Linked DNA regions of Homo sapiens: region 2 is linked to region 1. Evidence: promoter capture Hi-C in human tissues and cell types (Jung and others, 2019). All regions are on one chromosome and are shown on one strand. Each heading gives the region's core, a stretch centred on a gene start or on the middle of the fragment in contact. The rest is flanking DNA. Distances are from core to core; before and after follow the strand shown. Region 1 holds the start of TTC34 (tetratricopeptide repeat domain 34). Region 2 has its middle 14 kb from the start of ACTRT2.

Region 1 (3,583 bases), core at 549-3,048:
CCAAAGGGGCAGGGCCTGACTTTCTTGTCACTGAGGCACCCCAGCCCCAGCACAGCCTCACCCCATCATGGCAGGACATAACCATGTGGGGAGGGAGTGGCGGGGGCAGCTTTCACCCTGGCTCTGCAGGGGCCATGCCGTCCTCCTACCTTGGGGTTCGCTGCCGGTGGGATGGGCCTCGAGGGCCCGGCTGCATGCTGCCAGGCAGTCCTCAAACCTGCCGCTGTGGAGCAGAGCTTCAGGTGACAGGGTGTCACTCCGGGTGCCCCTGGGGTCCAGAGCCGCCAGGAGTCGCTGGCCACCGGTCTCCTGCTGGCCGGCACTGTGCCCAGCCTCCGGGTGCCCCGAGAGGTAGTCCTGGAGGGCACTGAGCAGCGCGGGGAGGTGGGGCCGCTGGTGGGTGCGAATGAAAGCTACCGTCCGGTCGGCGCTGGAGGCGAAGGCCTGGAGATAGGCGGCCACACCATCCGCTGCCTGCACCCCGGACAGGACCCAGGCGAGGGCGCGGGTCAGCCGCAGCTCCAGGACTTGCTGTGCATGAGAGTCCAGCAGGGCGCTGCAGCGTTGCACCACTTCTTCGTGACGCCCGCGGGCCAGCAGACCTGCCAGCAGGTGCAGGATGGCGGCGGGGTGGTCCGGGCAGAGGGCGCCGAGGAAGGCAGAGGCCAGCGACCCTGTCAGGGAGACCACTGCCATGCCGTCCCAGTGGATGGCGGGGATCTGGCTGTCCCCGCGGCACCAGGACTCCAGGGTGGCCACCACCGCCGCCCCCCGAGCCTGGGCCAGGGCAGTGCGCACACTCTGCAGGGCTGAGGGGGCGTGGCAGCTGAATGCAGCCAGGTAGAAGGCGGTGGCCAGGGGCAGCTCCCCCAGCGCCAGATGCTGCTCCCCCTCCCGGCAGAGGCAGGCCACGAGCTCCTGGGCTGACATCATGTCTGGGACCCCGACGGGCCCATGTCTGGTCCTCAGAGTACCTGGGGGTGGGGGAGCATGGTGAGTCCACAGAGGGCGGCCAGTTCTCCTGCCCTGTGGCCACCCGTGCCCAGCCTCAAGCCACCTCCACCCCTTCCCATTGACCCCACGGTCAGTGCAGACCCCACTGGGTGAAAACTGGGGGGATCCTGGGCTGGTGGGGTGGGGCCTACCAGGTGTCCCAGGCCAACTTCCAGCCCACTGTTCACCTCTGGGGCCTCAGTTTCGTGCCTTGCAGAATGGGACAGTGGCCTCCCCCAGCTCAGTTCCCTCTAAGAACATCTGACCCCTGAGTGTCCATGTCGGGAGGGTTACGGTGGCCCGAGGTGTCAGGGCCCAGCAATAGGAACCCCGGACCCACCCTCTGCCCCTCCCAACCCTGAGCCCCTCAGGAAGGCACACCCCCCGTCAGTCCAGGCAGCCCTCTCAGTGGGACGCAGGACCACACCCCTGCCCACCCTCTCACACCTGGGCCATTCGAGGGGGGCGCCGAGAGCACCTGCCAGGCCCTTGGGTCGGGGGAGCCACCCCAGCCCATGGGTGGGGGGGTTCAGTTTTGAGGTTGAGGTTCCAGGGACAGCCCCTGGTACTCCCCTATTCCCTGTCCCCAAGCTACTTGACCTGACGAACTAGCTCCGCACAGCCCTTTCTTCCCTCATCAAACAGGCAGCCCCCAGCATCCGCTCTCAGACACACACAGACACACTCACACTCGTCTGCAGCTTGGAGGCTGAGCCGGCTGTGCCCTGGGGACCCAGATTCCCTCGTGGGTGGTGGGGGACAGAGGGATGTGGCTGGCTGGAGGGCCCAGGCCTGGGTGGGGCTCCTATGACCGCCCCGTGTGGGTTGGGGAAGGCACAGCCTGCGGTTTCCCGGGAGAGTGTCAACACCCTTGGGTCTCCTGGCTGTCCTGCAGCGCCCCGCTGTGGCCAGAGGCTACCAGGCCGAGGTCCCACCCACACTGCCCCAGCCAGGCTCCAATGGGCTGCCTCAGAGCAGAGAACCCTGAGTTCATGGGGGTGTTGGGGGAGAAGGGGCCTGTGGGGTACAGCCCCCCATAGCCGGGGCCAGCCTCCACCCTGCCTGCTCTGCCAGGGTGCCCCCAGCCTCCTCTCCACATAGATGAGGAGGGCGCTTCCTGGAGGCAGGTGGGGGCCGCCTGCCCACCCAGTGCACTCAGGCTCTGGGTTTGTCCCCCAGAACTCCGCCTGGGCTGCTATGCGGGCCCCTCACCGCCCAGCCTCACTCCTCTTCTGGCAGGGCCCTGTCACCCGGTCCTGGGGCACCTCCCCACAGGCTGTTCCCTGTGCCGGCAGCTGGGACTGGACCTTCCGTGCACAGCCAGCCCATTTCCCTTGGCCGTCCTCCCTCTGAGAGGCTTAGGCAGCCCTGTCCTGCCTGCACCAGCTGAGCCAGCTGTGCCCTGGGGAGGGCAGGGCACATTAGCCGAGGGCACACCCCTCCCCCATCACAGGGTTGAGGCCCAGAGGCAGCTCTGGGAGCCATGACCTGAGCCTACTGCCCAGGGACCCTGATTGTTGCTGAGGAAGGGGTGGCAGCATAGGGACTATTTTAGGAAACATCACCTTCAGCCCGTGGCCACCGTCAGCCCATGCCGCAGGAGCAGAAAGACTGAGTGGGGTGGCTGGAGGCAGGCTCAGGTCCCTGAAGCTGAGACCCCACCACCGGCAGCTGCCCTGGAGGGCAGGCATGAGTGGGGGGAATGGGGGTGGTGCGTCCCTGAGAGAGGTCCCTCCCAATTCAGGATGCCAAGGTGCCCGGACACCAGGCCAATGCTGGCTCCTCTGTGGGGCTCAGGGAAGCAGGGTTGGGGGTGCCCTTTGGGGGAGGAGATCTTGGGAGTGGGGGGTGGCATCCCTGATCCCCTCGATGTCTGGGTCTCCTGAGACATGCCCCGCAGGCCCTTTGGGGAGGGTGTGGAGCCCCTGCAGCGTGGGCAGAGCAGTCAGGGTCAGTCTGAGGGTGCAGGGCAGGGGGGTCAGCAGGGCTGGGGCTGCCTGGCCCAGTTCTTCAGCTCCATGACATTCACCAGGGCCCAAGGCCTGTGCGGGTAATGCAGTGGGGGCAGTTTATTAAGAGATTGCCCATTACTCGGTGTTGATTACTTTCATTTTAATTGCCCTAATTAGGCGAGAGCTGTAATGGAGTGGGGCTGTCACCAGGGCTGTAGAAGAGCCCGGGGCACAGAGGTGGCAGGTCTGCGCGACAGTTGCCATCACAGCAGTGCCGATGGGCCCCCTGCGTCTCTGCCCTGTGCACAGTGCCCTGCCCGGGGCCCACAGGCACTGGCCAGATGAGCCTGGAAGTCTCGGAGGGTCCCGAGCTATGATCACAGCCCCTGCCTGAGAGCAGCACACCTGGATGCAGGTAATCCCAGGGCCGCCTCCACGCCACCTCCCAATCCGCACTCTCGTCTCTGATTCTGCCACAGACAAAAGTGGGCGGCTGAGCCGGACAGGGAGGCCGAGGCCGGTGCCTGGTAGTCTCAGGGTCTCGTGTTCGGGTTTGTGCTGCTTTAGTTTATGAGTCAAAAGGATTTCCAACATTTCCAACTTGAGGCTAGCGGGGGGCGGGGGATACTGCTCATTTG
Region 2 (3,819 bases), core at 674-3,173, 210 kb after region 1:
GGATTTTGTGCTTCATCTCCTGTTTTGCTGAGCAAATGAGAACCACTGCTCTCCCCACAGCATGGCAGACCCCTGCTCCAGGGCCTGCACCTTCCTTCCCCCTGCGCTGGGCTCTTCTGGCTAAATGATCTCGCTGATACCTTGGGAACTGGGTGATAAAGCTCGTGCCTGAGTAATTTCTACCTCCAGGCTCTCCTGAGAATCACAGTAAAATGTGGATGTTTCCAGGTTCTGCCAACACGTTTTCCAGTCGGCCGTCTCTTGGGAGTCTGGGCAGGCAGGGCAGGGGAGGGGAGTGAGAGAAGGAGTCAGCCTCCATTTTTAGGTTGAATTCCCTTTTGGAAGGCGCCCTGTCTGTCTTTGGCAAGGATGCAGAGAGGGGTGGAGCACAACCCCCGCAGGGCAGCTCAGCCAGCATCTCCCCAAGCACTTCCTTGAGTATTTCCTTCAACCCTGGGCAGGTAGGGGCAGCCACAACTCCATTCGGATTAGTTTGATCAAATGTTTCTCTGTATTTAAAGGCCCATATTTGGAAAACTCCAACTCTGTGCATACCAATCACTGTATACTTAAGAGATAGCAATTTACCAGTGGAAGTCTGGCCACATAGGTAGGGTGGACAAGCTGAGCAATACTGGCTGCCCAGTGATATAGTTTGAATGCATGTCCCTGCCCAAATCTCATGTTGAAATGTAATCCTCAATCTTAGAGGTGGGGCCTGGTGGGAGGTGTTTAGATCATCCGGGTGGATCTTTCAATAATAGCCTGGGCCATCCCCTGGGTGATGAATGAGCTCTTGTTCTGAGTTCACATGAGATCTGGTTGTTTAAGAGCATGTGGCACCTCTCCCCATAATACTCTGTCTCTTGCTCCTGCTCTGGTCATGTGACATGCCTACTCCCCCTTTACCTTCCACCATGACTGTAAGCTTCCTGAGGCCTCCTTAGAAGCCAAGCAGATGCCAGCATCAGGCTTCCTGTAAATCCTGCAGAACCATGAGCCAATTAAACCTCTTTTCTTTAGAAATTATCTGGTCTCAGGTATTTCTTTATAGCAATGCAAAACCTGCCTAATATAGAAAATTGGTGCCAGGAGTTGGGTATTGCTATAAAGATACCAGAAAATGTGGAAGCAACTTTGGAACTGAGTAATGGGGACAAGTTGAAAGAGTTTTGAGGGCTCAGAAGAAGACAGGAAGATGAAAGAAAGTTTGGAACTTCTTAGAGACTGGTAAAATGGTTGTGACCACAATGCTGATAGCAGTATGAGCACTGAAGTCTAGGCTGCTAAGGTCTCAGATGGAAATGAGAAACGTATTGGGAAATGGAGCAAAGATTACACGTTATGTCTTAGCTAAGAGCTTGGTTGCTGCCTTCTGTTCTGCCCTAGGGATCTGTAGAAGTTTGAACTTCATAGTAATGATTTAGTGGATCTGGCAGGATAAATTTCTAAGCAGTAAAATGCTTGAGATGTAGCCTGGCTACTTCTATCAGCCTATGCTCAGATGCAGAAGCAAAGGAGTAACTTAAAGATGGGACTTATATTTAAAAGGTAAACAGAGCATAAAAATTTGGAAAATTTTCAGCCTGACCATGTGGCAAATAAAAAAACCAAAAAAAAAAAAAAAAAAGCTTTTTCAACAGAAGAATTCAAGTAGGCTGCAGAGCAACCACTTGCTAGGGAAATTTGCATGAATAAAAAGGAGCCAAGTGCTAATATCCAAGACAATGGGAGAAAGGCCTTGAGGGCATTTCAGAGATCTTCCTGGTCTCTACTCCCATCACAGGCCCTGAGGCCTATGAGGACTAAATGATTTTGTGGGTCAGGCCCAGGGCCCCGCTACCCTGTGCAGCCTCAGGACACTGCTTTCTGCATCTTGGCAGCTCTGGGTACAGCCTGGGCTCAAAGGGGCCCAGGTATAGCTCAGGCTGCAGCTCCAGAGGGTGCAAGCCATAAGCCTTCCACATGGTGTTAAGCCTGCAGGTGCACAGAGTGCAAGAGTTGAGGCTTGGAAGCCTAGATTTCAGAGGATGTATGGAAAAGCCTGGATGTCCATGCAGAAGCCTGCTGCAGGGGTGGAGCCCTCACAGAGAACGTCTACTAGGGCAGTGCTAAGGGGAAATCTGGGGTTGGAGCTGCCACACAGAGTCTCTAATGGGGCAGTACTTAGTGGAGCTGTGAGAAGGGAACCATCCTCTTCCAGACCCTAGAGTGGTAGAGCCACTGACAGCTTGCCTCCTACACCTAGAAAAGCCACAGACACTCAACGACCTGTGCAAGCAGCTGTGGGGGTTGTACCTTGCAAAGCCACAGGGGTGGAGCTCCCCAGGGCCTTAAGAGCCCACCCCTTGCACAGTGTGTCCTCAATGTGGGACATGGAGTCAAAGGAGATTATTTTGTAGTATTAAGATTTAATGACTGCCCTTCTGGGTTTCAACTTTCACGGGGACTGTAATCCCTTTCTTTTGGTCAGTTTTTCTCCTTTTTGGAATAGGAACATTTATCCAGTTCCTCTGCCTCTATTGTATTCTGGAAGTAAATACCTTGTTTTGATTTTACACACTAATAGGTAGAAGGAAAAAACATCTCTAGATAAGAGTTTGGACTTGGGACTTGAACTTTTCAGTTAACACCGGAAATTAGAGTCAAGACTTTGGGGGACTGTTTGTAAGGCATGATTATATTTTGCAATGTGAGAAGGGCATGAGATTGTGGAGGGGTCAGGGGTGGACTTACATAGTTTAAATTTAAGGCCCCACCCAAATCTCATGTTGAAATGTAATCCCCAGTCTTGGAGGTGGGGCCTGATGGGTGGTGATTGGGTCATGGAGGAGGATCCCTCATGAATGCCTTGGACCATCCCTTTGGTGATGAGTGAGCTCTTGCTTTGAGTTCACATGAGATCTGGTCATTTCAGAGTGTGTGGCACCCCTCCAGCCCCTCACTTTCTCCTGCTTTCACCATGTGCCATGCCTGCTCCCCCTTTGCCCTCTGCCATGATTGTAAGCTTCCTGAGGTCTTCCCAGAAACTGAGAAGATGCCAGCACCATGCTTCCTGTAAAGTCTGCAGAGCCATGAATGAGTTAAACCTCTTTTCTTTATAAATTACCCAGTCTTGAGTATTTCTTTATAGCAATGCAAGAATGGCCTAAGACACCCAGTTAAATTTGAATTTCAGATGAACAAGGAGAAATATGCTATATAGACATGTCCCACGGAATCAGGCAAGCCCATGTGGGGCAGGCTCAGGACTGTGCACCAGGCTGGCTCTCTGCTCGCCCACACTTCCTGGTTTCTACACAGGTGGGTTTGGCCATGTGACTCGTCCTGATGAGGTGTGAGCAGAAGTGACATGTGTCACTTAAGCAGAGGCAGGATCCTCCCACATCTGTCTCATGGACAACACAATGGTACCCATCCCCTGGACTCTGAGTGACTGCGTGGAGCCGAGTGTGCAGACTCAGAAGGAGGAGGTATGTCCTGGCCCAGCCTTCCATGCCCACCTCCTGTGGGATGACGGAGCTGGACCAGCTGCTCCACAGCTGTTATTGGCAGAATCCCTCAAGAGAAAGGTAATTATTGACTGCTCACATAGGAGGCCCAGAGCATGGCGCCCCTGGGCAAAAAGTTAGGGGATGATGCAAAGCTCCAACAGGCAATGCCGGCTCCTTGGAGTGGCTCAGCTTGGCTCACATGTGGCTCTTCCTCGGAACAGTGTCCTTCCATCCCCTCCAACAGAATGGCCACCTCATCTGTCACAGAGTCCCCACATGTGGCCCTGCTGGAGCTGCCTCCCCCTCTAGAGGTGGAAGCATGGTC

The links. The method cuts DNA at HindIII sites, captures the fragments that hold promoters and counts their contacts. A contact is called where the count stands out against the background at its distance.
Region 2: a fragment that was not itself captured here is called in contact with the fragment with the promoter of TTC34 in region 1 in 2 of the 25 tissues and cell types used here (H1 embryonic stem cells and dorsolateral prefrontal cortex).

What each region holds. Positions count from the first base shown.
Region 1 is chr1:2,799,895-2,803,477 of GRCh38, forward strand. TTC34 (tetratricopeptide repeat domain 34) reads right to left here and starts at 1,799. Exons shown (of 9, transcript NM_001242672.3): 1 at 1,683-1,799; 2 at 150-974. The coding sequence starts at 933. The HindIII fragment of the contact is 12,605 bases long and covers 1-3,583 here.
Region 2 is chr1:3,005,659-3,009,477 of GRCh38, forward strand. No RefSeq gene overlaps it. Among named protein-coding and RNA genes, the nearest start is that of ACTRT2, 14 kb to the right of the region's middle. The HindIII fragment of the contact is 4,575 bases long and covers 1-3,819 here.